Linked DNA regions of Homo sapiens: region 1 is linked to region 2. Evidence: promoter capture Hi-C in 16 types of primary human blood cells and fetal thymus (Javierre and others, 2016). All regions are on one chromosome and are shown on one strand. The core of a region is centred on a gene start or on the middle of the fragment in contact, and the rest is flanking DNA. Distances in the headings are between cores, read along the strand shown. Region 1 overlaps C5 (complement C5). Region 2 holds the start of CNTRL (centriolin).

Region 1 (4,920 bases), core at 1,327-3,826, 48 kb before region 2:
ACATCTCTAATACATTCTATACATATCCTATATTTTAGCCAAACTGGATGATCTGCTGTCCTCAAAGATTAAGCTTCACCATCTACTCTTCTTCATCTGCCCTCTCTCTGGAGGGTTTCTATTTCACCCTGTCTAGCAACTCTGCCTCAAAACCCTAATTATTTTTCAAGACTGATCATCTTCACAACACTGTTCTTGCTTGCTCAACAATCATCTAGAAGCTCACCTTCCTCTGAATCCTATTGCATTAATATTTTGCTTAGAGCTCATATGGAATTCTTTCTTGCAACAGTTCTTTCTTCACCTGTCTTATACCTGATGCTAATTTGTAAGCCACTTTAGTGCTGGCATCATACATCATTAATGTTTGCAAGCCTGTCTGTTTGGCAATACTTTAAATATCTCATAGATACTGCTTAAACTGAACTTATTTAAAATAAGTTGAGGAAAAAATAAAAAGAAGAAACATTAAAATAATGTTGAAAACTTTAGGCTTTAGGAAACATTCAGTTTGACTCCATCATTATGTAGACTATAATAATGATAATAGTAATAACTTTTATTTGTATAGTACTTTATCAAATAGTTTTACACACATAATCTTATTTTGGTTTTGATTTTCACCACGTGAGGACACTAGGGTGCCAAATGGTCAAGGCAGAGAGCCTGCAGAACTACTTTGGACATGAATTGGGTACTGTTTTCCCATTTTTGCAGTAGAAGTGGAGGTAATAGGGACCCAATGGCTTGTCCAATGACTAAAAAGAAGCAGAGCCCTACTGCCTTTTTATAACTATATAAAAGTCTACTTCTTATAATTATATTTAACTATGAAAGAAAATACAATGTGAAATAATTATAGAAATTGGAAATTATTTATATCTTTAATATTCTGTCTAAATATTTTTCAAAAGAAAGTATACACACACACACACACACACACACACACACTTACCTGTAGACTCTATGACTGTTACAGCAATATAAAGGTACTTGTTGTTTAAATCTTCTAAACTGTAGTATGACAGTTCTTTGACTGCTGTTTCAGAATCAAATGTGACTTGAGCAATTCCATTTATCAACTTTTTAAAAGGAGAAAAAGGAGGAGTTATTTCGGAGAAGAACTTATAAGGAAAAATTAATAAAATCTGCTTTTACTAACCTCTAAATTGAAGGTAAATGTCAGAAGAATGGTTTAGTGTCAAAAGTAAAGTAGATAACCGAGTCCACGATTAAGCCCAGGATGTTATTTTCTAATTATTTGTATAGAATTATAGAAGTAGAAGGGTCTTGAACATCACATGGTCCAACAGGTCTTTTTGGTAATAGCTGACAAACACGACTTCTTCCAATTCCTGCGTCATCATTCATCTTTATAGGCCTCTCAGCGTACTTCCGCCCTTAACTGAGAGTTTGTTGGTTTTTATAATATTTAATTTGTACTTCACTGCTTACAAATTTAAATACTAATTTTAAAACACACAATGAGTAAAGGGATGTGGGGTTAAGTCATATTATATTATTTAATTATTAACACAACAGTAAAATAAACTTTGCCTTATTTTTTCTTATAAAATTGAGCGACTTGAGGGCAGGCATTTTTGTCTTATTTAGCTTTACATCCCAGTGTCTAGCATAGAATTTTGCATTTTAAAAATGCATTTAATTTACATCTTGAATTAATAAGATTGTAGAGGATAAATGATTGATGATGCAAACCAAATGAATACGAAAAAGTGAGCAAAAATGACATGAACTCATATCATCTGTGGTATAATGTAAAGAATGCTGAATAAGGGAAAGGGAACCAGCGCCCTAATCTCAGTTCCAGCAATCATTAGCCCTAAACTATGGACAAATAACTTCATGAATATTTCCTTGCAAGAAACTATGCTGTCTCTGGGCATATAAGGGAAATGATTCAGACTCACAAATAGTTTAATATTGAAAATGATAGATAAGTAAACAAGCCATTCCAGTAAAGAAGGGTTTCTCAACCCCTCAGCATTATTGACATTTTGAACAGGATAATTCTTTGTTGTAGGGGCCTGCCCTGTGCATGGTAGGAATTTAGCAGCATCCCCGGCCTCTCCCTAGTAAACACCAGTAGCAACCACAAATGTCTCTGGACATTGCCAAATGTCTCCTTGGGAATAAAAAATCACCCCTAGTTGAGAACCGCTGCAATGAAATGTGAAGAATGTGTTAAGAAAAGAGGCTATACAGCCGGGGCAGCTAACCTAGTGTAGAAGAGTCAGGGGAGGCTTCCCAGAGAAAGGCTGTCAATGTTGAAACTTAAAGAATGAGAAGGAATTAGCCAGGCAAAGAAGGGGCAGGAGGTGACAATGGGAAAGAGCATTTTCAAGCAGAATAAATGATATTGTAAAGACCTGGAGGCAAGAGAGACTTTGGTCAGTTAGAGAAATTGGAGTGATTAATACAAAGGGGAGGGAGGGAGGAAAGGGCATGAGATCAGCTGGTAAGGGAGGCTGATGCCAAGGAAAATGAACTTTACCCTAAAGGCAAAGGGAAGCCAATGGAGGATTTTAAGTTTCAACCTATCTAAAATGGGGGATTGGACTAGATGGTTTTTAAGTAACTTCTCATCTCTCACCTCTGGATGCATCTGTAGGTGTGAGTGACTGTGTCTTAACATCTTACCATTGTGTTTTGCATTGCTGTTTGCATCATTTCTTTTTGATCATCTTTTAAGTCTTCTCTTATTCCAAATGTGATATAAACGTCAGCCTCAGTGACTACTTTATTATAAAAATATCTGTCAGACAATAGCATAAAACTGTTTTACTAACATGGTTACAATAACAGGATTCAGATAAAATGTAACAATTTGAAATTACGTAAAGCACTTGAGGCACTTTAAAGTGTCTTTCATCCTAAGCAAAAAGAACAAAGCTGGAGGCATCATGCTACCTGACTTCAAACTATACTACAAGGCTACAGTAACCAAAACAGCATGGTACTGGTACCAAAACAGATATATAGACCAATGGAACAGAACAGAGGCCTCAGAAATAACACCACACATCTACAACCATCTGATCTTTGACAAACCTGACAAAAACAAGAAATGGGGAAAGGATTCCCAATTTAATAAATGGTGATGGGAAAACTGGCTAGCCATATATAGAAAGCTGAAACTGGATCCCTTCCTTATATCTTATACAAAAATTAATTCAAGATGGATTAAAGACTTACATGGTAGACCTAAAACCATAAAAACGCTAGAAGAAAACCTAGGCAATACCATTCAGGACATAGGCATGGGCAAGGATTTCATGACTAAAACACCAAAAGCAATGGCAACAAAAGCCAAAATTGACAAATGGGATCTAATTAAACTAAAGAGCTTCTGCACAGTAAAAGAAACTACCATCAGAGTGAACAGGCAGCCCACAGAATGGAGAAAATTTTTGCAATCTACCCATCTGACAAAGGGCTAATATCCAGAATCTACAAAGAACTTAAACAAATTTACAAGAAAAAAACAAACAACCCCATCAAAAAGTGGGCAAAGGATATGAACAGATACTTCTCAAAAGAAGACATTTATGCAGCTAACAGACACATGAAAAAATGCTCATCATCACTGGTCATCAGAGAAATGCAAATCAAAACCACAATGAGATACCATCTCACACCAGTTAGAATGGCAATCATTAAAAAGTCAGGAAACAACAGATGCTGGAGAGGATGTGGAGAAATAGGAACGCTTTTACACTGTTGGTGGGAGTGTAAACTAGTTCAACCATTGTGGAAGACAGTGTGGCAATTCCTTAAGGATCTAGAACTAGAAATACAATTTGACCCAGTGATTCCATTACTGCGTATATACCCAAAGGATTATAAATCATGCTGCTATAAAGACACATGCACACGTATGTTTACTGCAGCACTATTCACACTAGCAAAGACTTGGAACCCACCTAAATGCCCATCAATGATAGACTGGATTAAGAAAATGTGGCACATATACACCATGGAATACTATGCAGGCATAAAAAAGGATGAGTTCATGTCCTTTGCAGGGACATGGATGAAGCTGGAAACCATCATTCTGAGTGAACTACCACAAGGACAGAAAACCAAATGCCGCATGTTCTCACTCACAGGTGGGAACTGAACAATGAAAACACTTGGACACAGTGCGGGGAACATCACACTCTGGGGCCTGTCATGGGGTGGGGGACGGGGAGGGATAGCATTAGGAGAAATACCTAATGTATGATGAGTTAATAGGTGCAGCAAACCAACATGGCACATGTATACCTATGTAACAAACCTGCACGTTGTGTACATGTACCCTAGAACTTAAAGTATAATAATAATAAATAAAGTGTCCTTCATGCACTATTACATTTCATCCTCATAAAGCCACATTAATAAAGCTATGTGCTAGATGAAAAAAATTGATCTTGGGGAGATCACAAGACTTAGAATCAGGGCCCTCTCCTATATGCCAAATTACTTCCTTGATAATTTTGATATCAGCTACTCTCTGTTTTCTTTTATGTTTTTAAAAGGTACGTGTCCAATCTCACTGTTATATGAGATCTATTCATAAAAAATTTAAACTGCATGTTTCCCTTTTTAGTTTAGAATTAAAGTAAGAATAAAGTAAACTTTCTACCCAGCAAATAATACTATAGCAAGAGCTAACTTTCCTTATTTATGGTTTGAATAAATAGTCCCCATTATAGGAGGTCAGTTTCTATAATTTTCTCTCAAGTGAGCCTTTTATGCTGGTTTAGACCAAGTAATAAACACTCTATTTTTCAAATCAATGCTAATAAGAGAGCTAGCATAGGGTAATGTTTGAGGCATGGACTCTGGAAGCAGACAGGCTGTGCAACTTACTAGCTGTATGATTTTGAGCAAATTATTAAACATTTATGTACCTCA
Region 2 (5,087 bases), core at 1,292-3,791:
ACCGAAACGATGGGTGTCAAAACATATGCAAATAGAACTGAAACTCAGCAACGTACACATTCCAATCTAATAAATATCACCTGAACTTCGATTAAAAATGAATGTAATCTCGGCAGGGCGCGGTGGCTCACGCCTGTAATCCCAGCACTTTGGGAGGCCGAGGCGGGCGGATCACGTGAGGTCAGGAGATTGAGACCAGCCTGACCAACATGGTGAAACTCTGTTTCTACTAAAATACAAAAATTAGCTGGCCTTGGTGGTGCGTGCCTGTAATCCCAACTCCTCGGGAGGCTGAGGCAGGAGAATCGCTTGAACCCGGGAGGCGGAGGTTGCACTGAGCCGAGATCCTGCCACTGCACTCCAGCCTGGGTGACAGAGCCAGACTCTGTTCAAAAAATTAAAAAAAAAAAAAAAAAAAAGAAAAGAAAAAAAATGAATGTAATCTCCTCTTAAGTGGAGCTTTTCAAAAATTCTGCGTTTAAACTCCAAGGGCTTCGTTCTGTGTCGTGTAAATAGTTGGGGAGAGGACAGCACCATTCACTTAAATGTCAATGGGAATCACATTTAAGTAAAAGGAAAAGGAAATCAGTAAATCAAAGTAAATCAAAGACACATCTGCATCCCCATGTTTATTGCAGCTTATTCCCTGTTGGACGTCCCCTGAATTTCCTATAGAGGTGAAGCCATCTCTGCCTTAAGGAAAAATGAAGTGCCTAATACTGCTTATAATATGGTCCCTTTTCCAGATTTAGCTTCTCCACCCCAGATTTTTGCACAAGCCATACTGAACTACTTCATGTTTCCATACTCATGTTTTGTTCCAGCCACACTGAATTACTTAACATTCAGCACATTGCCAAGCTCTTTTCCCCCGCTTCCGGGGTTTGCACAAGTTGTTCCCTTTGCCAAGCAAATTCTTCCCCACCTCCCTACTCCTTGCCTAAACTCTTCTTTTGGGCGTAGAAAGAAGTATTGCTTCTGGGTAACCTTTGTCTAATAATGAAATATCTAAGACATATTGAGAACTTACTATGGGTCCCTCACTGTTCTAAGTTCTTTCACAGAGATTCACTTTTATAATTATCAGGAAAACTGGACTTTTTTTTTTTTTTTTTTTTTTTGAGATGGAGTCTCGCTCTGTCGTCCAGGCTGGAGTGCAGTGGCGCGATCTCGGCTCACTGCAACCTCCGCCTCCCGGGTTCAAGCGATCCTCCTGCAGCCTCTCAAGCAGCTGGGATGACAAGCGTGCGCCACCACGCCCGGGTAATTTTTGTATTTTTAGTAGAGACGGCGTTTCACCTTGTTGGCCAGGCTGATCTTGAATTCCTGACCTCAAGTGATCCTCCCACCTTGGTCTCCCAAAGTGCTGGGATTACAGGCATGAGCCACAGCGCCCGGCCAGGATTCACTTTTATAATTATCAGGAAAACTGTAGGAAGTGTTAATAGGTAAAAGGACCTCATTTCATAGATAAGGAAACTGAGACACAGAGAGAGAGGGAGTTTCTAAAAGTGTTATACAGGTGGCCTATAAACTCTGTAGTGAAGAAAGGAAATGAAGACAGGATAGAATGATCGCGAGAAAATGGTAAGAACAAGGGACTGGAAGACGCAAGGAAGTTTAGAAATACGCTGGCATAGGGGTCTTTTGAGCAGGCACGCTGCTAAGATGATAGGATTATAGTCAAGGATGGGGAGCGATTGCACTGGGGATTTCTGGAGCGGGTGCAGCCTCTGATGGTAACATGGTCCAGGGTATACCTTCAAAACGGGAGGCTACTGGAGTGAAAGGCGTCAATGGTGATAACACTTTAAAAAAAACTTCAGTGTTTCCCTAGCATCCAGCCCAGTATCTGCTAAATTCTTTAAAATATCTGTTGAATGCATGTCGTGAACGCCGTGCTCATGGGCAAGCCCCAGATGAAGCCTGTGCAAGTGCTTCTTGCTTTAACTCCCTTGTAGCAATCAGAGGAACATCCTCTGCCTAGGATTCCCAAGCTCCCTGAACCTCACGCGACAGCTGGAGCCCAGGCTGCGTCCGCTTTGAGGTTCATCCGAGCCTGGGCAGTTCGGTCCCTGGAGGGAATTCGCTTTAGATACGACTGTCAGAGAGAAGTGTGCTGATAAGAACACTCGCTCATAGCGCGCAAGCATCAGAAGTGGGGGAGGCCGGGGAGGCGCTGCGCCGGTGCCTCAGGCCGTCCTCGGACACAGGCCCTGAGAAGCGTGTCCGTGTTTCAGAGGGTGGCGGCGGCAGCTTTGTCTCAGCGAAGGCCACAGCACTGCGGGCAGCTGCCGCATGAAACCTCGGCTCCCCCTGACTCTGCACCCGACACTTCACCTGCAACGCAATCCGAAGGCGAAGGCACCGCATCCCGTCGGCCCCGCGCGGCCGGAAGCCTCGCGCCCAAGACTCCCCGGCATCCTAGCGCGCTGGCTGCAAAAGAGGCGGGAAACGCCTCCGCGTCCCTTCCAACAGTACCGGAGAGGGAGAGGGGCGTGGCTGAGACTAGCCCCGACCACGCGCGCGCGGCCCCTCGGCAACCGGCACAACACAACAAAATGGCTGCCGCGCCGCTGGGCCCCTGAGGAAAGAGCCCGAACTTCTCCCGCTCTACCTCAGCCTGCGGGACTGCTCGGCTCGGCTTCTAGGCGGTGAGCGTCAGACCTGGCCGAGCCCGTTCCCCGGCATCCGGCCCGAGCAGTGGGGGCCGGCGGCAAAGGCGGGAAGGCCCGGACCGGGCGTGGTGTGGGCCGGCTTGGGATGGATTCGGGGCGGGGGCGCGTGTCTGGGAATTGGGATTGGACGGGAAAGAGGGGAGGGCCCGGAACGGGCGTGGGGCGGTGGATGAAGGAGGGAGGTTTGGATGGGAAGAGGTGGGGACGGCGGGGGCGATTGGGGATGAAGAACCAGAGTGTGGGGAGGTGTGGAAGTTAGGGTGCGGCGCCCAGAAGGTTGTGGGTCCTGCCACCTGAGCTGAGGGGAGAGCTGGGATGTGCCAGCTGTCTGTGGGGAGTGAGCGGGAGAAAGGACAGTTTGGGCGTCCTGACGGGTTGTCACGGTATCGGACGGAGTACAGTGCGTGGAGAAAGATGACAGGATATGGGGACGAAATGCTAAAAGAAGGGGAAGAACAAACACTTCCGTTATATTCGTTAAGGGACTAGAGAATTTTGAAGCCAGACAAACTTGGGTTGAAGCCTCAATTCTGCCACCTTGTGTAACTTAACCAGGTCTGTGACCCTGGATATGTGTCTGAGCCTTCCTGATCATGTTTCCTCATTTGTCCAAATAATTGCGAATCATTTTTGGGTGTTCACTATTTGTCAGATCCAGTTTTAAGCACTTTGCACGTATTAACCTCATTTAGAATTTAAAATAACTTGTATGAGGTTATCATCCCCATTTAAAAAGTGATAGCACTGAGGACCAGAGAGGTTAAGTAATTTGCCTAAGATCACACAGTAAGTGGAAAATCAGAATTTGAACTCAGGCTGTTTCGTTCCAGAATCCAAGCTTTTAACTGTTCAGGTACATTGCCATTTGTAAATCAGGTTAATAATTCTGATCCTATACAGCTAAATCTTTGAGGATTTAAATTTGGTATTGTCTAAGTGTTTAGTACAGTCCTTCAGTCAACAAATATTTATTGTTTATAGAACAACAGACAAAACCTCTGCTCTCTTGTAGCTTATAGTCTAGAAGGAGAAACAGGCAACAACCAAGTAGTTTCACAAATAATGGTTATAAAATGCTATGAAGGAGACTGCTTGGTGCAGAGATCATGGGTAATAGGGAGATAAAATCTTCTGCATCTTGAGCTTAGATTCTAGCATGGTTCTTCCTACATAAAAGTTGCTCAATAAAATTGAATAATTAATGGAAAGAGATGGGAAGCTTGAGTTTTAGGGTATCTGAGCAGAAGAAGAGAGATGGGAGAGGGGATTCAGGCTTTTAATAGGATGGAGAAGGATACGGGGGCTAGAGTATTAGGATGGAAAGGCAAATAGGCAGGCAGTTGGGTTGGGATGAAGAGGAATGGATGGAGGTTTGAGTATTTTGTTTAGGGAGGGGAGTAATTGGAGGTCAGAGTATTGGAACGCATTAGGATGTCAGGGTATTTTCTGGGGTGAAGAGAGATGAGCAGCTTGGGAAGTCTGGATGGATAGAGAAATGTTGAGTCTGGGCACAGGAAAGAACCATAGAGAAATGGGGGAGACTATTACTGTGTTAGGGAACTGGGATAGAATTTGTGGGAAAATTGGCAATCAGAATGGGATAAAGAAGAATGGGAGGCAGAGGTGGGTGGGCAGCACAGAATGGGGGAATTGGCTTTGGAAAGAAAAATGGCTGGAGACTTTGCAGAGGAATCGGAATCAGGATATTTGAAAGGAGGAGAAGATTAAGGAGTAAAAGTATTTCAGTAGGTCAGAGGGTATGGGATGAAGTAGACTTGGAAAGTACTGAAATCCAATTAAAGGGCTAAGGAGAGGGATATGGGGGTTAATAAATGGGGATGGGTATTTGCATATTAGGGAGTCTGTAGAGAGACAGAAGGAGGTCTGCGTTATTTGGAGATCAGAGAAGATGGGAAGTTAGGAAGGTTAGGAAAGGCTGGATGGAGGTGGAGTTTGCAGTCTGTACTAAGCTGTGATGGACTGAATTGTTAGATCAGAGCAACTATCTGGGTTTATAGGTGGCAGGATGGGTAGTGTTTTGTTGCCTGGACGTAGGATTCTGATTATCATGTCATTCCAATGGCTTTCTCTTGCTCTGCAGACAGCCTTTAAAATACAACTGCAGCTCTGAACTTTATTTGCTTTTTTTTTCTCTTTATCCTGCTCCTTTACTCGCCCTAGCCTACCTCTCAGTTGTCTTCATTTTTCCATTGCTTGCTTGGTCTTTGTTCATGTGATTGCAAACAACATCCTAGATCAAACTACATCCTCATCTCTCCATTAAAATTATAATTCAGCATTTACCACCTCCAGGCAGTAGCCTAAGAAATAATGCCAGCCATTCTCAAACACTGTAAACCCCTAAGCCCACTTCACTGAGTTAGCTATTCTCTGAGACTGATTACGTCT

What was found. The method cuts DNA at HindIII sites, captures the fragments that hold promoters and counts their contacts. A CHiCAGO score of 5 or more calls a contact.
Region 1: a fragment that was not itself captured here is called in contact with the fragment with the promoter of CNTRL in region 2 in 2 of 17 cell types (naive CD8 T cells and naive CD4 T cells); the score reaches 5.2 in naive CD8 T cells.

The regions. Positions count from the first base shown.
Region 1 is chr9:121,024,499-121,029,418 of GRCh38, forward strand. C5 (complement C5) reads right to left here. Exons shown (of 41, transcript NM_001735.3): 8 at 2,662-2,776; 9 at 956-1,082. Among named protein-coding and RNA genes, the nearest start is that of C5, 23 kb to the right of the region's middle. The HindIII fragment of the contact is 5,010 bases long and covers 72-4,920 here.
Region 2 is chr9:121,072,414-121,077,500 of GRCh38, forward strand. It overlaps CNTRL (centriolin), which reads left to right and starts at 2,542. Exons shown (of 44, transcript NM_007018.6): 1 at 2,542-2,654. It also overlaps a transcript of C5 not described here. RefSeq lists silencers at 1,806-2,002, 2,627-2,686, 2,807-2,946 and an enhancer at 2,117-2,506. The HindIII fragment of the contact is 4,047 bases long and covers 1-3,514 here.